Regions from separate parts of the Homo sapiens genome. Here all the other regions are linked to region 5. The links are contacts of gene promoters, found by promoter capture Hi-C in blood cells and fetal thymus (Javierre and others, 2016). All regions are on one chromosome and are shown on one strand. The core of a region is centred on a gene start or on the middle of the fragment in contact, and the rest is flanking DNA. Distances in the headings are between cores, read along the strand shown.

Region 1 (3,722 bases), core at 1,087-3,586, 2.1 Mb after region 5:
TCCATGGGGGGGAGTGAAACTCAGTAAGCAAGCAGTGCCAGTTGGGGTGGGCGAGGATGATGGGAAGAGAAATTTGAAAAAGGAATAAATTAAATCTTGCTGATACTCTGTTCTCATTCCCAAATATATTGCATATGTCCTCAGAGAGACAGGCTGTTTGGAGTGATTTGGAATTAGGACATTGTTTAAGCATTTAGAAGAAATGGAATGTTGTGTCCAACTCAGTAAGAAGACCTGGTTGGTCTTTTTACAGGTCACTGTAGTTAATTACACACTGCCACCTGTCCTGTGGCCTACTTGGGACCACTTTGGTCCTGAAGCCCCAGAGCTGTGCTGGACCAAACTGATAACTCCTTAAGAGCTGGGTCTATCACTTTAATCATCTTTGTTTCCCCAGCATCCTCATTGTGTATATAGTCAACTCAGTAAATTGGTTTATTGAAGAAATTAATGAAGCCAGATAGAATGATTCCTTGTTTCTTTAGGAGCTGACATTTTTGTGACATTGAGTAAATCAGCTTTTAGGTCTCTGTTCTCCATATTTTGATATATGGCTTAGTGGAGAATAGGACCACCTCTTACCTAATATGATCTATTTTTTTAGGCTTTGCTCAAAAAGAATGATGGGAGCTTTATAGAAGATTTAAAGGAGAATGCTCAGAAACCTTTATAGTGAGCAGAATTCAGTAATTCCTCTAATTCAGGACATAAGAAGGGATAAGTAGGAGAGAGACATAAATGCCCAAATGGGGAATTGGGGCCAGGCACCCTGGCTCACGCCTGTAATCCCAGCACTTTGGGAGGCCAAGGAGGGCGGATCACTTGAGGTCAGGAGTTTGAGACCAGCCTGGCCAACATGACAAAACATATGTCTACTAAAAATACAAAAATTAGCCAGGTGTGGTGGCGCACACCTGTAATCCCAGCTACTCAGGAAGCTGAGGCTGGAGAATCACTTGAACCCAGGAGGCGGAGGTTGCAGTGAGCAGAGGTGGCACCACTGCACTCCAGCCTGGGTGACAGAGCGAGACCCCATCTCAAGAAAAAAGAAAAAAATGGGGAATTGGATCCTAGGGTGCATTCAGGAGTAAAAACCCCAAAGTTGTTAATGAGAAAAGAAGATGAGATAATACAGTTGCCAGAAGCCCTTTCTGGATTGATTATTGACATTCTAGAAGCTTCCTTAGAGAAAAGATAGAAGAAAATTTTTTCTAAAGGGTTTTAAGAATAGCTCTTAAAACCTGTCTGAATGAATTGATTATGTTTTAGTGTCTTGGGTTGTCCAGGCAGTAACTCTGAGGACTTACCCAGCCGGCTTGTTCTAGGATTCCAGACATTACAGCAGTCTGACACTTATAGGAGTTCTGTTTTTCCTTGTACTGCTAACCAATTCCTGATTCAGGGAATTACCGCAATCCTAAAACCTCTCCCAACCACAGCTTCAGAGTCCGATCTCTGACTCCACCTAGGAGAAGAACTAATTTATTGATTACCTTCTATGAGCTAGGCACTGTGCTATATGCCTTAACATGGTTTCATTTCATTTCTGTGACAGATAGTGGATCTCATTTACAACTGAGAAAACCAGGGCTCTTGAGGATTGGGGGTGGGGGTAGATATTGAATAAGTAACTACTACATATTAAGTAAGCACCGTGCAGGCATCCTTCACTGTGATTCTTGACCTTGTTTATCGTATGGCACACAGAACATGATTGTATTTGTATGGCACATTTGGGTAAATGGTCTAGCCTCTCAGAGATCCTGCCACCTGCTGCCTGCCCTAAGGGATATGGGGATCATTACCTCAGCATATCTATAACTTAAAAGACACCGTTTGAGAAACTTTGCTGTACAGTAGTCCCCCCTTATCTGTGGTTTTGCTTTCTGCAGTTTCAGTTACCTGCAGTGAGCAGTGAACCATGGTCTGAAAATATTAAATGGAAAATCCCAGAAATAAACAATCCATTAATTTTAAATTGTGCACCATTCTGAGTAGCATAATGAAATCTTGCGCTGTCCCGCCCAGGACATGAATCATCTTTTTGTCTAGCATATCTACAGTGTGTACGCTACCCTCTGTTAGTCGCTTAATAGCTGTCTAGGTTATCAGATTGACTGTCACAGCATTGTAGTGCTTGTGTTCAAGTTACCCTTATTTTACTTAATAATGGCTCCAAAGTACAGGAGTAATGATGCTGGCAATTTGGATATGCCAAAGAGAACCCATGAAGTGATTCCTTTAAGTAAAAAAAGTGACCTTGGTGTTTCTTTGCTACAGTTCAGTGCTATCCACACTTTTATTTATCCACTGGGTGTCTTGGAACATATCCCCCACAGATAAGGGGAGACTGCTGTACTGCTGGACATATATCATCTCAGTCTTCACACCAACCTGGGAGGTAGATGTTTTGTCCCCATTTTGTAGAAGAGGAACCTGAGGCCCGGTGACATTTGAGGAGCATTGCCTGTGGTCACATAGCCAATAAATTCTGAATTCTAAATAACTTGCTTTTTCTCACCCCCAGCATCTGAAATTTTAGCAGCTGGTAGAACAGTAAATAATGTAACTATTAATTCTGGGGGCCTATTTAGTGGAACACTTTTCCTGGGCCAGTCTTCCTCCCGCTCCTTTGTAATTTTAAACCACAGAAGTAAAATAACAAACGCCAGGTCTTGGAATTGAGAAGCAATCTTGTGATGGTATACTTCACGCTCAGCAAACTCATCGTTAAGGCACTGAGTTCTCGGACCTCTAACTCCCAGAAGACTTCCCATGAAGTCTCCTTTGGCCTAATACTCTCCTCAGCAGCCATTCTCTCTCTTCTAGCCATAAATAGTAAACTAAAATATTAATGAATGTGATTTGACAAATATTGCTAAGTCAGACAGCAGACCACTTAAGATCGATCGTAGCAACTTTTCCCACAAGGATCTGTGCTCAGGATACTTTATGCCTAGAGAAATTTGAAATTAGAGACTCAAAGTGTGTATGACTTGGAGCCCAAAGGTTATTTATTTATAGTTGGTTTTTCTCAGGTCTTTTGACAAAGTAGGAGAGTGAGGAACTCAGCCCTTCTTTGGCTGAATTAAAACCTAAAGGTTAAAAAAAAACTTACTAAGTGATGTAATAATGGGCTTTTATAAACTCCCTGACTCTTCAGCACAGTCAGCCTTCCCCAGGAAAGTATGCTTCCATGCTTCCTCCCATTGGTCATCCTCTTAATATTTCATTCAGTTGGTCCATGATTAACATTTCCATATTTTTGTTCTTTGCTCTTGTTTTCTAGAGGTGAGGAATGGTATTGGACTCGTTGCCTTTGTTTCCTGGCTACAGTTTCAAAATGAAGGCTCAGAAGCAATTTAAATTTTCATCTAGTTTTTTCCTTCTATTCTGAACTCTCTGCTTCTCCGTAAACCCACTTGATACTTCAATTCGTAGAGATACCCAGTGCGCTTTTCCTAAGTCACATATAGGGCTTTGAAGAAGCAAGGTGAAGCTTTGTATGATTCGTATAGGTTGATTTTTCAGCAGGGCTAGCATGCTTCATAGAAGCCAGTTTTTTTGAAAGGTATTGTCTGGCTTCTATATCAGCTTTTTAACACTCATAAACCATGTTATATATTCCATTATTTCCCAGCATCCCTGGAGAGCAACTTAGTCTTCGTTTCTTTCGCAGGTAATGGAGCAGAGATCGTGGAAAGATACGTACTTGATTAAGA
Region 2 (4,054 bases), core at 547-3,046, 2.1 Mb after region 5:
GCCTCTGAGAGCCAGAAAGAAAATGGGGACCTCAGTGCTACAACTGCAAGGAGATGAATTTGCCAATAACCTGAGGAAGCTTGCAAATTGACCTTTCCCTGGTTGAGACTCTGATGAAATTACAGCCCATGTCAATACTTGGTCTGAAGTCTGGTGAGTCCCTGAGCAGGGGACCCAGTTAAGTTGTGCCTAGACTCTTGACCCATGTAAACTGTAAGATAATAAATGGGTGTTATTTGGGGCTGCTAAGTTTGTGGTAATTTGTTACTCAGCATAGAAAACTAGTGGAGCATCTGTCCATCACCAGAAATTTTTGATTTTTTCACTGAAATAATTTCTCAAAAACTCCACTTTTCTCCATCTCCACTACTCCACCCAGAGTAAACTGCCATCATCTCCTATCCAAATAGAGTATCTTTCGGCCTGGCACAGTGGCTCACACCTCCCAGCACTTTGGGAGGCTGAGGCAGGAGGACTGCTTGAGCCCAGGAGTTTGAGATCAGCCTGGGAAACATGCCAAGACCCTGTCTGTATTAAAAATCAAAAGAATTAGTCAGGCATGGTGGTGTGGACCTGTGGTCCCAGCTACTTGGCAGGCTAAGGCTGTAGGATTGCTTAAGCCTGAGAGATCAAGCCTGCAGTGAGCTATGATTACGCCACTGCACTCCAGCCTGGGTGACAGGGCAAGACCCTGTCTCGAAAATAAATAAATAAATAAATAATTTTTAAAAAATATCTCCTTAATCTCCACTGTCACATTTGCTCCTCCTAACTTAACTGGATCAAGTCATGAGAACACCTCAGGCAAGTTAATAATTTCCCGTTCCTTCAACTCAACATTTTTTCAGTAGAGACAAGGAGAAATTTTCTACTAACAAAAGTGATGCATCTCTCTTTTTTTTTTTTTTTTTGAGATGGAGTCTCGCTCTGTGACCCAGGCTGGAGTGCAATGGCCTGATCTAGGCTCCCTGCAACCTCCACCTCCTGGGTTAAAGCGATTCTCCTGCCTCAGCCTCCCGAGTAACTGGGACTACAGGCGCGTGCCAACACACTCGGCTAATTTTTTGTATTTTTAGTAGAGACGGGGTTTCACTGTGTTAGCCAGGATGGTCTCTATCTCCTGACCTCATGATCCACCCACCTCAGCCCCCCAAAGTGCTGGGATTACAGGCGTGAGCCACCGCGCCCAGCCACATCTCTTTCTATACCAAAACGAGAGGTTCAATATATGCGATTTTCCAAAGCAGGTAACTCCTTGGGAGACCCATTAAACCACTTAAAATTTAAACAACAGGCTGGGCACAGTGGATCACGCCTGTAATCCCAGCACTTTGGGAGGCTGAGGCGGGGGATCACTTAAGCCCAGGAGTTCAAGACCAGCCTGGGCAACATAGTGAGACCCCATCTCTATTAATTAAAAAAATTTTTTTTGTTTAGTCACTCATTTTCTGTAAATAGCACAACCTATTGTATTACATAGGTTCAGACCTTCAGCTTAATGTACTTGATGGCAGTTCTTGGCTGACTCATCTCAGGTTTGGAGGAACAGTTGGTACACGTCTATCACAAGTTTTTAATTTTAAGAAAGAACAATTTGGCTGGGCACAGTGGCTCACACCTGTAATCCCAGCACTTTGGGAGGCTGAGACAGGTGGATCACCTGAGGTCAGGAGTTCGCAACCAGCCTGGCCAACATGGTGAAACCCTGTCTCTACTAAAAATACAAAAATTAGCATGGCATGGTGGCGCACACCTATAGTCCCAGCTACTTGGGAGACTGAGGCAGGTGAATCACTTGAACTCGGGAGGCAGAGGTTTCGGTGAGCCGAGATCGCACCACTGCACTCCAGCCTAGGCAACAGAGTGAGACTCTGTCTCAAGAGAAAAAAAAAAGAAAGAAAGAAAGAACAAGTTATCTTTTTCTTTCTCTGTTGCTCAAGATTTGAGTGCCAAATCTGAGGTCATGAAGATTTACCTCATGTTTTCTTCTAATAGTTTTATCATTTACATTTAGGTTGTTGATCCAGTTTGAATTAGTTTTTGCATGTGGAATGAGGCAAGGGTATGAATTCATTTTTTCTTTTGCATGTGGTTATCCCATTGTCCCACCACAATCTGTTAAAGAGACTCTTCTTTCCTCCCATTAAATGGCACCCTTGTAAAAAATCAATTGACCATAGATGTTTGGTTTTATTGCTAAACTCTCAATTCTATTTTATTGGTCTATATGTGTCTGTCTTTATACAAGTACCACACTTCAGCGTGGGCAATATAGTGAGACCTCAACTCTCCAGAAAAAAAAATATTTTTTTAATTAGCCAAATGTGGTAGTGTGCACCTGTAGTCCCAGCTACTTGGGAGGCTGAGATGGGAAAATCACTTGAGTCCAGGGCCCAGGGGTTGCAGTGAGCCAAGATTGTGCCACTGCACTCCAGCCTAGGTGACAGAGTTAGGCCCTGTCTCAAAAACACCTTCCTGGGAAGTTTGGAAATCAGGTACCTTCCTGGTAAGTTTGGAAATCAGGAAGTGTGAGTCTTTCAATTTTCTTTTTCTTTTTAAATATTGTTTTGGCTATTCAGAGGTCCCTGCAGTTCTCTGGGTATTGTTTTTTGTTTTTTGTTTTTTTTCTTTTTGAGACAGAGTCTCGCTCTGTTGCCCAAGCTAGAGCGCAGTGGCGTGATCTCGGCTCACTGCAGCCTCCGCCTCCCGGGTTCAAGCAATTCTCCTGCCTCAGCCTTCCAAGTAGCTGGGACTACAGGCATGCACCACCATGCCCAACTAATTTTTGTATTTTTAGTAAAGACAGGACTTCACCATGTTGGCCAGGATGGTCTTGATCTCCTGACCCCATGATCTGCCCACCTCAGTCTACCAAAGTGCTGGAATTACAGGCATGAGCCACTGTACCCAGCCTGTCCCTGCAGTTTTATAGGAACTTGAGGATAAGTTTCAATTTCTCCAAAAAAAAGACCATTGGAATTTTGATCGGGATTACATTGAATCTATAGATTGCTTTGGGGAATATTGCCATCTTAACAATATTAACACTCCCAACCCATGAACATGGGATGTCTTTCCATTCATTTAGGTCTTCCTTAGTTTCTTCCATCAATGTTTTTAGTTTTTGGTGTACAAGTCTTTCACCTCCTCAGTTAAATTTATTCCAAGGTAATTTATTCTCTCGGATGCTACTGTAAATTGAATTGTTTTCTTAATTTCCTTTTCAGATTGTTCACTGCTAGTGTAAAGAAACAGAGCTCATGTTTGTATGTTGGCCTTGCACCAACTTTGCTTAATTCCTTTACCAGCTATAGTAGGTTTTTGAGATTCTATGGGATTTTCTATACAGAGAGCCAAGTCATCTACAAATCGTGGTAGTTTTACTTCTTATTTTGCTATTTAGAGGCCTTTTATTTATTTTTCTTGCCAAATTGCTCTGTCTAGGACTTCCAGTATAATGTTGAATAGCACAGATGACAACAGACATCTTTGTCTTGCTTCTGATTCTAGAAACTAAGCTTTTAGTCTTTCACCATTGAGAATGATGTGTTGTGGGATTTTTTTCATAAATGCCCTTTATCATGTAAAGGAAGTTCCCTTTTATCTTAACCCATTCTGCTGCTATCACAAAATACCTTAGAGTGAGTAATTTACAAATAATAGAAATGTATTTCTGCCAGGCACAATGGCTCATGCCTGTAATACCAACAATTTGGGAGGCCAAAGTGGGAAGATTATTTGAGGCCAGGAGTTCAAGACCACCTCAGGTAACATAGCGAGGACTTATCTCTATTAGACATTTAAAAATTAGCTAGGCATGATGGCAGGCACCTACAGTCCCAGCTACTTGGGAAGCTGAAGTGGGAGGACTGCTCGAGCCAAGGAGTTTGAGGCAGCAGTGAGCCAGGATCTTGTCACTGCACTCCAGCCTGGGCAACAGAGCGAGACCCTGTCTCCTCACCACCAAAAAGAAGAAAGAAATTTGCTTCTCACAGTTCTGGAGGCTGGGAAGTCCAACACCAAAATGCCAGAAGATTTGGTGTTTGGTGAGGGC
Region 3 (4,287 bases), core at 535-3,034, 2.5 Mb after region 5:
CTGTCTCTGTGCCTGGCCAGGACTGTTGACTTTAGCAGGTTACAATTAATAATCTACGGTAATGTACTATAGAGCTTTTTTCTATTCTTGGAAGTGTTAAGGATAACTCATAATCTAAATCAGATTTCTCATGATGATTCTATGTGTCCAGGTATGTAATTGAGCTCACTGTGTATCCAAATCCAGCTGTTAATGAGTTCTGTGCTAAGGGAATATTAAATTTAAGAAAGTTTTTTTGGGTTCTTAAGAGTAATTTCTTCAACTTGGAGGAGTATTTGTGCTTTCTATCCTTGAGACCAGATAGAACTCATCGATTCTAGAGAGAAGTAGAGTTTCAGTCTCATTCTGCTGTACACTGGCTGTGTGACCTTGAGCACATTAAACCTCTATTAACCTGTTTCCTCTTAGAATTTTGAGAATAAAATGATGTAATCCACAGTGCCTGAAACATGGTATGCTCAATAAATATTACTGCATATTAATAATTTCTGGAAAAGGCAGACCTAATCTATAGTAGCAGAAAACACCCATGATTGCCTCAGGCTGAGTATGGGGTTTACTGAAAAGGGCATTAAAGAACTTTTTGGGGTGAATGGATCTATATCTTCATTATGGTAGCAGTTACTTAGGTGTATAAATTTCTCAAAAATCTATTGAAGCGTACACTTAAAATGAGTTCACTTTTATTGTATGCAAATTATACGTCAAAGTTTTTTTTTTAAAAAAAGAGCCTCTTAGATTAGACTCTCACAACTAAGAACTAAATAATTTCTAAGATTTTAGAGTTGCCTGAGACTGACAATTATTTAATATAGTTCCTTCACTTTAACAATGAGAAAATTGAGGTTTGGAAAGTTAAATGACTTATCCTAGGTCACACAATTCTAGAAAGAGCAAAACTGGATTTTGAAGTCACTTCAGGCTCCCACGCCAGTGTGTGTTCCAATTATATACACATGTAGTTCCTTGCAAATTGAGGTCTTTCCTGTTCTTCAATTTGATAAACAGATTCTTAATCCTGGGTACATGGATACATTGCAGGAACTCTGTGAACTCCTTAAAATTATGTGTAGGTTTTCGTGTTTTTGCAGTTGTGTATTTTTCTGAGTAAAAGATCCACAATTTTCTTTTTTCTTTTCTTTTTTCTTTTTTTTTTTTTTTTTGAGATGAGTCTTGCTCTGTAGCTCAGGCTGGAGTACAGTGGCTCAGGCTGGAGTACAGTGGTGCAATCTCCGCTCACTGCAAGCTCCGCTTCCCGGGTTCACGCCATTCTGCCTCAGCCTCCCAAGTAGCTGGGACTACAGGTGCCTGCCACCACACCTGGCTAATTTTTTTGTAGTTTTAGTAGAGATGGGATTTCACCATGTTAGCCAGGATGGTCTCACACTCCTGACCTTGTGATCCTCCCACCTCGGCCTCCCAAAGTGCTGGGATTACAGGCGTGAGCCACCGTGCCGGACTTCATTTGATTCTTAAAGGGTCTGGGCCTCAAAAAATGTCAACCTCTGCTCTCTTGGTTGGTATCCTGCAATTATTATTAATGCTTCAAATAAGGTAATTTCCAGTAGAGAAGTCATAGATTAATTTGCTTGCCTGTCAGTGAGCAATGTGTGCTACTAGATTGAGTTCCATATCAGCCACAGCCTTAGAAATGTATTAGTAAATTAAAAATTCAAAGAGTTGTAGCATCTGAACTAGGAATCATTAGAGGTGATCGTTACAGAGTGGCATGAGGAGTAAATCTGCCTGTTGTCTGCCCATGGTTTCATCGATTGTTAAATGAGGTTAATAACCACCATGTTGTGATCATTAAATGAAACCATGTTTTTAAAAAAAGGTGGTACAACAGAACTAACTCTTCCCTCACCTGCCGTACCCCTTCTTCTACTGCCCGCCTCCTTTTAAAAAGATGTCAATTACAGATTCTTTTTGTGAAAGATGGGCCTAAATAACTCTTGGGATATGGAAGGAGAGTAAGATACATTTTGAGTTTTGGTGTTTTATTTAGGAATGTCCAAAATATTTTATCAATCATCTGGTTATATAAATTAATATATAACTCAAAATATAAGAATATTTCCTTTTTATTCTCCAAAACAATGAAATTCCTATATGTGTGTTACAAAATTGCTTGTTATATGTCCATGTGTGTGTTGGTGGTTCTCACTAAGTAAATTATGCCCCATCTGATCCATAATGTGACACAGGGAACTATGTGAAACTATTGTACTGACTTCTCTCTGAAAACAATACCTATTAAGTGCTTTGTAATCTCAATAAGTAGAGAATTTCTCCTAACATCAATGCTACTGTTCATAGTACTGAGTGTTCTTTCAGATTTTGTTGAACTACCACCAATAACATTTTACTTTTTGTCTGAGATTTTTATGTATTAACTATATTGTCTAGGTCAAAGAATATAATTTATTAGGAAGTCATTTTTAGGCTGAGCACAGTCGCTTATACCTGCAATTCCAGCACTTTGGGAAGCTAAGGCAGGCAGATCACTTCAGGTCAGGAGTTTGAGATCAGCCTGGCCAACGTGGGAAGGTCCCATCTCTGCTAAAAATACAAAAATTAGCTGGGCATGTGGCATATGCCTGTAGTCCCAGCTACCGGGGAGGCTGAGGCAGAAGAACCGCTTGAACCTGGGAGGCGGAGGTTGCAGTAAGCTGAGATCACACCACTGCACTCCAGCCTGGGAGACAGAGTGAGGCTCCATCTCAAAAAAAAAAAAAAAGTCATCTTTAGATCAGATTTTGTCTTTCAGGCAGATGAGAAGCAGCATTAGCAAAGCGGTTAAAAGTGTGGGCTCTGTTGCTAGAACACCTGGGTACAAATCCTAGCTTGCCATTTAAATTTTACATAACTTCTCTGTGCCTCAGATTTTCCTTATCTATAAAATGAGAGTGCTGGTAAATATAAGTATTTAGGACAGTGCCTGGCAGAGTAAGCACTGTATGTTTTAAGCTCTCATTTTTATTTTTAAAAAATTGTATTCATCCCATGACAGGTGGGTATTCAGTTGGTGTAACTTACTGCTGTTATTAAATTGGGGGTGAAATGCAACAGGGATGATGAAAAGGAGGATCCCCACCCTAGATATTTCCTGGCACCAAACTGCCCTCCTTTTGGCTAGAATGACAGCAGAACCCATAACACCAAGCTAGTGCCCATGGGGGCCACATTACCACCCACCTGACATGGTTCTAGCTCTCTTAGAATCAAAATCACATGGAGGCTGCAGCCCCCACAAATAATCTCACAAATTGGAGTATTGCTAGCAGCAGGTGTCCATGGCTTTAGGAACCCGTGTACGCACCAGGCATTGGCCTTTCAGAGTGCCTACACCACTGCCAGCAGGGCCATCTTCTCTGTGGGCATCAGGCCAGCTCCAGAAAGAGAATATGTAGGGATGGGGCCTGGTGTTCAGGAGGCATGGTATGCAAACCAGTGGTTACCAGGGCAAGATGGGGTACAAGGTGCCAACTGCAAGTCACACACTGGCTCCAGTAGGGATGATGGAGTTTACTGATGGTGGTATCTGTATGACAAGACTTTGGGGAAGGTCAGCTGGAATGGGTACTGATTAATCAGGAAAGGTACTATATTGCCAGACCAGTATCTGTGAGGCCCCCTTTGGTTACTGGATTGTGGGGTCATCCAAGAGACTGGGCAGGAAACCTAACACTAAAATTTTATCCTGTGTTTCTGCTGAGCGTCTAAGGTGATGTAATATTCTAAATAAACACATACCCTATCTTCAGGTAGGAATTACATTTCCAAAAATAGTTTTTAAGTTGAGGGCCTGTTTGTGGCTGCCTAGAAAGGGCAAGTGCCTGAACAACACTGCTTTTGCTGTTGGGAAAGGAGGAAAAAAGCTACCATATTCCTTCTATCATATTGTTGCTTTAAGAGCCTATGATTGATTCCTTGAGGACCATCCCTGAAGGGAGTTACAAAACAGCTTTTAGCAGATTACTGTAAGGCACTTAAAGCTTAAGCTGCATTGTATTTCAGTCTATTTAGCAGAACAACTTGTGGTTCTTTCTGTCAGGCTAGTGAAATAGTAAAAATAAAGCTAAAAACTTACAATGAAGCTTCCATTTTTAAAAGGCCATTATTCAGATTGGGTAGAGTAAATTTGAATCCACTTCAAAGTCTATTTTATGCTTCTGATCTTCAACAAAGGCAGTTCTTTGTGTTCTTTGTCTTTACATCTGTACAATGGGTAGGTCATCATTCTGTCAAGCTAAGATCTTTTGGGAACTTATAAGTACTGTGAGA
Region 4 (4,002 bases), core at 795-3,294, 2.4 Mb after region 5:
TATGAAGCGATAACTTTTATTTTCTCTTAAATGGAATTTTTCCAAGGCTAAATTAGTAAATCTTACAGTTTCTTCATTATCTAAATAATTCCTGCCAGTCAGGCAGCCTTATTCTCTAATGTTCTCAGCAGGCATATATAAAAGTTTCTAAACTGCCTTTTACTGAAGACATGCCCTCTGAAAAGCATAAACAAAGAACTAGTAACATACTTCAGAATTTTTTTTAAACTAGAGAAAATTGACTTTTGTTAATTATTAGATAAGAATGAAAAACAATTTTGCCAATTTATATTCAAATTTTAAATTATATATGTATTTTTAGCATCAAAGTGGGTCGTAAAATTATGTCCTTGAGTGGAAATTCTCTAGGAAAACACAATAATTCGTTTTAGATGCTTTTAACTCCAAAATACTTAAATAAGCAGTTTAGTATGCAAAAGGAAAATAGATAACATTAAACGCATTATTTCAGTCAATTTATCACTTTTTAAAAATTAAATATACAAAGCAAAGTTTGTTCATTAACAAAAAAGATGAGAATCTTCTTGAACTTCGACACTTCAACAACTGAAAAGCCCATCCAGCCCCACAATTTCAGTAACTATTCATATGGTAACGACACACAACTCTTCCTCTATCTTAAGCCCAGACCTCTCTGTTGGAGCTCCAGTCCTGTTTACCTTCTGAATGCTTGACACCTCAGATAACTCATCTCTCCTAATCCTCACACCCCAATTCTTCCCCTCTGCTCCGTATCATGGAAGACATAAAAGTGACTGCCATCCACTCAAAAACTTGAGACTCTCCCCAGATAATTTTCTCTCACACCTCCCAAATCTTTAAATCTTCTTGAAATCTCTTCAGATCTATCCTTTCCTCTTCTTGCTTACTCCACTCCCTTTTCCTTACTTTCATTCCTCATCTAAACTCCCATAATAACCTCCTATATGTCCTTCTATTCTCCCACTATCACCTGAAATAAAGTCATCTGCCTAGCCCCAAAGAAATGTGAGTTTGAGATTCTTGGCTCCTTAGAACTTCTGCTTTCCTTATGACAAACAAGAAACATCAATATCTGGTTCCTACCTAGCTCTTCAGCCTTATTTCTGTTACTCACTCCTCAGTGTCCATATATTTTAAAAATAACTTTCTAGTTCCCTGAGTGCTGATTCACATTTCATGTATTTGTCTACATACAGAAATCACTTCCAGTTTGGCCAGAAAATATACAGAAATCACTTCCAGTTTGGCCAGAAAATTCAGGGTTAAAGAAAAAAAAAAGACATCACTTCCACCTTTACTATGTTTGGCAAACTTCTATTTATTCTTTGAATCTTCAGAGTGCAAATGGCTTGCTTTCTTGTGTTACCTCAGGATCTTTGTAATGTTTTTACAGCTAAAAATGTATTTGGTTACTCTGGGTTTTTCTGTTTTTTTTTTTTTTTTTTTTTTTTTTTGAGATGGAGTTTCGCTCTTGTTGCCCAGGCTGGAGTGCAATGGTGAGATTTCAGCTCACTGCAACCTCTGCCTCCCGGATTCAAGCTATTCTCCTGCTTCAGCCTCCCGAGTAGCTGGGAATACAGGTGCCCACTACCGTGCCTGCTAATTTTTGTATTTTTAGTAGAGACAGGTTTTCACCATGTTGGCCAGGCTGGTCTCGAACTCCTGACCTCAGGTGATCTGCCCACCTCAGCCTCCCAAAGTGCTGGGATTACAGACGTGAGCCATCACGCCTGGCCTATTTGGTTACTCTTAAGTTTGAAGGAAATGATGTCTCATTCAGCTGTGTATACTTACCAGCCCCTGTCCCCCAACCACCCTGTTTCTTTTTCAGACAGGATCCTGCTTTGTCACGCAGGCTGGAGTGCGGTGGCATGATCACAGGCTCAAGCCATCTTCCCACCTCAACCTTATAAGTAGCTGGGACTACAGGTACATACCAACATGCTTGGCTATTTGTTTCTGAATTTTTTTTTGTAGAGACAGGGTCTCGCCATGTTGCCCAGGCTGGTCTTGGACTCCTGGACTCAAGCAATCCTCCTGCCTCAGCCTCCCAAAGTGCTGGGATTACAGGCATGAGCCACTGCGCCCAGCCATCCCTTAGCACAATATCCATAGCAGTAACCTGTACATGGTTTTAACAAACGAATGCTGAATGTAAACTGATCTGGAACTGAGATAAAGGCTGAAGTCACAGGTAAAACCGTCATGCTCCTAAAGATCTGTATTTGGTTAAACATTTGAATATTTACTCACTGCCAAATTGGGCTGAGGATTGAAAAAAAAATGAGCCTGTATTTGCAAAAAACCCTTTCTTTTGATGAGGCGAACAATTAGCAGATATATGCATGTGACAAACTACTATTTTTCCATCACCACCTCTATCTTATTTAAGACTACCTTTGATACACGAAATCATAGGCAATCTATTTTTACAATTCAAAAGCAGAGACAAATACAAATTTTACCTAAGATCAGGTTCTGAAGCATAAAGTTAAATATTGTTTTTCAATAGAATATTTTAGAACGGATATTACACTTTTGCATAATCTAATTTAAAAATATAATATCTTGGCTGGGCGCGGTGGCTCACGGCTGTAATCCCAGCACTTTGGGAGGCCGAGGCGAGCAGATCACGAGGTCAGGAGTTCAAGACCAGCCTGACCAACATGGTGAAACCCTGTCTCTACTAAAAATACAAAAAAAAATTAGCCAGGAGTGGTGGCGCACACCTGTAATCCCAGCTACTCAGGAGGCTGAGGCAGGAGAATCGCTTGAACCCGGGAGGCAGAGGTTGCAATGAGCCGAAATCATGTCATTGTATTCCAGCCTGGGTGACAGAGGAAGACTCTGTCTCAAAAAAAAAAAAAAAAAAAAGGTGAAAAGAAAATTAATTTTTGCAGTGAAAATGAAGATTCTTCAAAACTTCACAGTTAGAAGAAAATAGCTATAAAGATAACCTTGAATAATCATCCTTGAATGATTCACACCATGACATTTGGCAGGATTATTCAGGAAGTAGACACTGGCTTTTAGAAGACACTAATAAATTCTGTTAAAAACTAACACTAAATAGTGATGAATCCATCGTCATGTATGTTAAGGGGAAAAAAAGGAAGAACTAAAATTATCTTAAAGTGGTTTTAAAAATAGCTTAGATATACAGTATCCGAACTCTTGTCAGCTTCCTCCCACAAGTTTTCTTTTCAATAATGGTGACTACTTCCTGCTTTTATTATATACCAACAACAATACTGATGAATAATTTATAAAACATGTACATAAAAATATTAATGTCCTAGAAATAAGAAGCAAGAAATATTAATCTAGGAGGAGGGCTACTGTGATGTTTACTATGGCACAGAATAGCTATTTACTAAATGATCTGCTTCAAGAGCTATTCCAAATCAATATTTGGTATTACCTGAAATATCCTTGGAATTCCTCCAGTATTGTAGTGAACTACTAGGCTGACTTTATTCTCTTTTTCTACAATTTCAAAGGATCCTTCTTTCCACTTTGTAATCCCAGTCTGCATACTTCGAATTCTGATAGGACCATGTATCTTCAGAGGAGACATATTTTCTTTAAAAATTGCTTCTGGCTAAATTAAAAAGCAAAAATATACCTTTACCTGGCAGGTTCTAAGGAAGAAAAATAAGATAAGTTATAACTTACTAGTAATTAATTTCTAACCACCATGCATTTCTTCTGCGCCTTCATTTTCCCTTCTTTGCCATGTGTCCAGTACTGTATTTATTAGTGCCTAAATTCTACATTTTGTATCATTCACAACCATACTGCTACCGCTAAAGACATGTCAACAGGAATAAGATCCCATTCTCAAAGTGATTGCCTTCACCATTAAAGTGTTGATTATTCTCTTCCTTCATGAAAGCTAATGGGTCTGGATTTCCAAATATAAGTTAAAAAAAAAAAAAAAGTGTGTTCAGGCCAGGCATGGTGGCTCAGCCTGTAATCCCAAAACTTTGAGAAGTTGAG
Region 5 (4,158 bases), core at 799-3,298:
TTCCTTATCAAAATAGTTGATAAAAATATTCCTCTGAGGCCAAGTGCAGTTGCTCACACCTGTCATCCCAGCACTTTGGGAGGCTGAAGCGGGAGGATCGCTTGATCCCAGGAGTTCAAGACCAGGCTGGGCAACATAGGAAGACCCCGCCTCCACACACACACAGAAACCCCACAAAAATTAGCTGGGCTTGGTGGCACACACCTGTGGTCCCAGCTACCTGGGAGGCTGAGGTAAGTGAATCGCTTGAGCCCAGGGGTTCCAGGGTGCAGAGAGCTATGATTGTGCTACTGGACTCCAGCCTCGGCCGAGCGACACCCTGTCTGTTTCTTTCCTTTTCTCTCTCTCTCTAGCTCTGGATCGTACAAGAAGGGAGACAAGGACCACTGACAAGATATGGTATGTGATACTAATCAGATTTGGCTTCTTTCTGTCCTGCTTCACCAGAGGCTGGACTCTCCTTGTTTCAGTTTCTCCGCTTTCCACAGATAAATCTTTTGTTTCCCGGATAGCCACTTGGCCTGTTTGCCCTTTGCTCCCATTTTTCCTTGTTTGCTTCTTTGTCTGAAAATTTATGCTGTCCTGCTGCCTCCGCTGGGCTTCGTTTCCACCTTTGCTGGAGGAGATTTAGCTGACAACCTCACAGATCTTCCCCGCCCCTTCTGCCGAGCTGATCTTTCTCTTGGAAATCTTACCCGCAGGGAAGGGCGAGTGTCCGTGCCTGCCTGCCTGCCTGCTGCAGCCCGCGCAAAGCTGAGCGGCCAGGGCGCTGCTGTTCCTTTAAAGTATTATTAAAAATAATATTTCAGCTTTTAAGTAACTCCTTGAGTTTGAATCAAAAGCTGGAAGAACCTCCTGGGCTCTATGAGCACCTCTGAATATGTCTGACTCTACATTCTAGAGGCTTCAATGTATTTATAATTTTGGCTCATAGATTCTCCACATCTTTTCAGCTTCAATTCTTGCTTTTCCCAGAAACAATTTTCAAGCAGGAGAGAATATTGATTGGACTTGATTTTCTCAGTTTGGGCAGAGGTTTGCAGACACTTTGCAGGTTGCCAGACCCTTCGTCCAGCCACCTGTCAGCTGGGGGTCATATGGTATAGAAAGCAGTCATTTCTATGCAAGGTACTGCTTGGGCCTGCCTCCCTCAAAGGGGTAGGGGATGCGGGCTGGACAAAGGGCTCGTGATCAAGTAAAGCACTGTGATGACAGCTGCTATTTCTATATCTCCCTAGACTTGTCTTCTAAATTAAACCTTGACTCCTCCCTTCCAAGCTGGAGCCACTGCTAACTACTGGGAGAGCCTTAGCAGATAAAGTCTCATGCCTCCAGGCGTTTGTGCATCCCATTTTCTCTGCAGAGTAGAATCTCCCTTCTACTTTTGTGCTCCTGGGGACGTCCTACTCTTCTTCCCCAGTTGGCTCTAAGGTTATCACATCGGTGAAGTGTTTCATTATCACTTTTTAGAAGAAACTGAGTCTTTTAGAGAAGTTAAGTGACTTTCTGCATTCATACTCATACTCAAGAAAATCTAACTCCACAATAACCAAAAATAAAAAGTAGAAAAAAACCCACAAGTGATGAGAAAAAAAAAAATCAAAAGTTATAAAAAATAAATGAAAAAATGAAATTAAAGGAAAAAAGATTTTTTAAAAAAGTAAAAAAAAGAAAAGAAATCTAACTCCAGAGCTCTGACACAAAATGCCTTAGGTGTTATTCTCAATGAGAGAAAAGGGACGTGAATCTTTAAGTGATTAAGTGAATCTTTAAGTAAATCTGTCGTACTAGCGTTTCAGGCGGCTCAAACACCACACGCTCCCGACTACGGCGGAATGGAGAGAATGTGCGCATGCTCGGCGGGAATCTGCGCATGCTCGGCGGGAATCTGCGCATGCTCGGAGAGAATCTGCGCATGCTCGGCCGGAATCTGCGCGAGCTCGGCGGGAATCTGCGCAAGCTCGGCGGGAATCTGCGCATGCTCAGAGTTCCGGGGCACGGTTTCCCCGCCCCTTTCAGGCCTAGCAGGAAACGAAGCGGCTCTTTCCGCTATCTGCCGCTTGTCCACCGGAAGCGAGTTGCGACACGGCAGGTTCCCGCCCGGAAGAAGCGACCAAAGCGCCTGAGGACCGGCAACATGGTGCGGTCGGGGAATAAGGTATAAAGAAAGCCATGGACTTGGGCTTTACCCGGACTGGGGATCCGGAGAGGGTGGTTCGGAAGCAGGAATCGTGGGATCGCGGTCAAGACAAAGAATGGGGCAAGAGAAGATCATGGTGGTGGGCTCAGTCAGGAGGGCCGGGACCGAGGGATGCGCTATGAGAAAAGCTGGAGATTTGGGGCTCCAAGACCTGAATTTGAGCCTCGCTGACTCCACCTCTTCCATTACCCACCCATCCCATCCCTCTTCTCCCTCTCTACCTGCTCTTTGTCTCACCTGCCTCCCCACCCGCCTCCCCTCTCTCTCTCTTTATCCCATTCCACTCCCTAGCCCCACTTCCTCTATTACTTCCGAGCCTGGGTTCTTAAGATCTCTATGAGAATGAAAATTAGCTGTGATAAAGCAACTATCCCACAGGGCTTGTTGTAAAACTTAAGAGAGGGACTATCTGTGACTAAAATAACTTAAACTGTAAAGCGTCGTATTATTAGCTTTATAATAACGTAGTATCCCGCATTTATTGAAAGCCCACTCTGTGAGGGACGGATCTAAACCTTTTATTCTTATCTCATTTAATCTTCACAACCCCTTGAAGTGAAAACTATTTATCCCCATTTTGCAAGTGGGAAAACCGAGGAATAAAGAACTGTGGGCTTTTCCTGGTGAAATCCGGATTTGAATCCAAGCTGTCTGGTTTCAGGGCCCTGGAGAACCCCTGTGTTGCTAGAAATCTATGACCATTGGTGTCCCAGATCAGTAACAGAAATTACAATGAATTTTAAAGTGATTTTTTTTTTTCAACATAAAAGAGTGGTAGTTGTCTCTGAAGGGTCACTAGAGGGAGATGTGGTTCCAGGGATTAATGAATTTATTCAATACAGATAAACAAGATACGAGTTTGAGCAACTGATCCCTAGTTCCCTCAACTCCTCATTGAGAAATGTTGATTAAAACGATCATGAACTTTTAATAATGCCACTCACCTCCTTTTTTCGTCCTCTTTCAGCTGCTGAAAACTTTGTAGCTCTAGTGGAGGAGCTGTTTGTTGCAGATGAACTGGAAGTAAAATTCTAACAGCCTGTATTGCTTCGGTATAGAAATGAAGAGTTGCTATGCTACCCGGTTTCTCTTTCTCAGTTTTCTTACTGCTGCCAGATAGGAACTCAGAAATATAGACCATTCTGCTTCCAGACAATAAGTTCCATATTTGAAACCCTTTGATGGCACTTACTGGATACCTAATTCATGACAAAAGTGCTTTAGTCCTCTAGAGTTTTCTGGTTTAAAAGTAGCTTTTGTGGGTGTGTATCAAATAAGTGCAGCAGCATATTTTGTGACTCTTAAGTTTTTTTAGGTTATCATGCCCCAGGCATTGAAACTGGGATGTGCATTTTACTGTTCTCAAAGGAATTTTGTGGTTTATTAGCACGTTTTTTTTTTCAAATAATCTAATTTTACTTCAGAAATCTCTTAGTGCATTGTGTTGTTTGTAAACTAGTGAAAAATAATCTTTTCTTTTCATGTGTTGCCTGAGATATAACCACATTTAGAAATCATCTATAACTTCCCTGATAGGAATTCATTCAGGTTTTTAAAACATTTCTAGGGTCAAGAGATCACTTAAAAAAGAGTAGTTTCTTTATTGATCACTTCTAAATGTTATTTTTTATCCCTCGTATGGAGTCGCATCAGTCTCCCTGTAACTTCCATCTGTTGATCCCGTTGTCTTTCTTGGCAGACCAATCCTTTTATACAACAGTTGTCAAATATCTGGGGGGAGGCCAGACACGGTGGCCTATACCTGTAATCCTAGCACTTTGGGAGGCGGAGGTGGGAGGATTGCTTAAGCCAAGGAGTTTGAGACCAGCCTGGGCAACACAGTGAGACCCCAACTCTACAAAAAAAATTTAAGAATTAGCTGGGCATGGTGGGGTGCAACTGTGGTCCCAGCTATTTGGAAGGCTGAGGTAGCGGGATCACTTGAGCCCGGGAGATGG

The links. Contacts are between HindIII fragments. The CHiCAGO score rates a contact against its expected background, and 5 or more counts as called.
Region 1: a contact is called between a fragment that was not itself captured here and the fragment with the promoter of XRCC5 in region 5, in 1 of 17 cell types (neutrophils). The highest score is 6.7, in neutrophils.
Region 2: a fragment that was not itself captured here is called in contact with the fragment with the promoter of XRCC5 in region 5 in 1 of 17 cell types (neutrophils); the score reaches 6.6 in neutrophils.
Region 3: a fragment that was not itself captured here is called in contact with the fragment with the promoter of XRCC5 in region 5 in 1 of 17 cell types (neutrophils); the score reaches 6.3 in neutrophils.
Region 4: a contact is called between a fragment that was not itself captured here and the fragment with the promoter of XRCC5 in region 5, in 1 of 17 cell types (neutrophils). The highest score is 5.1, in neutrophils.

Annotation. Positions count from the first base shown.
Region 1 is chr2:218,221,228-218,224,949 of GRCh38, forward strand. The region is part of intron 2 of ARPC2 (actin related protein 2/3 complex subunit 2); the gene reads left to right. Among named protein-coding and RNA genes, the nearest start is that of ARPC2, 5.9 kb to the left of the region's middle. RefSeq lists a silencer at 1,593-1,642. The HindIII fragment of the contact is 2,321 bases long and covers 1,177-3,497 here.
Region 2 is chr2:218,201,886-218,205,939 of GRCh38, forward strand. No RefSeq gene overlaps it. Among named protein-coding and RNA genes, the nearest start is that of ARPC2, 13 kb to the right of the region's middle. The HindIII fragment of the contact is 3,439 bases long and covers 78-3,516 here.
Region 3 is chr2:218,574,242-218,578,528 of GRCh38, forward strand. The region is part of intron 1 of CNOT9 (CCR4-NOT transcription complex subunit 9); the gene reads left to right. Among named protein-coding and RNA genes, the nearest start is that of CNOT9, 7.5 kb to the left of the region's middle. RefSeq lists an enhancer at 3,371-3,871. The HindIII fragment of the contact is 4,423 bases long and covers 1-3,996 here.
Region 4 is chr2:218,555,074-218,559,075 of GRCh38, forward strand. USP37 (ubiquitin specific peptidase 37) reads right to left here. Exons shown (of 26, transcript NM_020935.3): 4 at 3,425-3,604. The coding sequence starts at 3,580. Among named protein-coding and RNA genes, the nearest start is that of USP37, 11 kb to the right of the region's middle. The HindIII fragment of the contact is 9,842 bases long and covers 1-4,002 here.
Region 5 is chr2:216,107,300-216,111,457 of GRCh38, forward strand. It overlaps XRCC5 (X-ray repair cross complementing 5), which reads left to right and starts at 2,049. Exons shown (of 21, transcript NM_021141.4): 1 at 2,049-2,158. The coding sequence starts at 2,138. RefSeq lists an enhancer at 1,773-2,394. The HindIII fragment of the contact is 16,954 bases long and covers 1-4,158 here.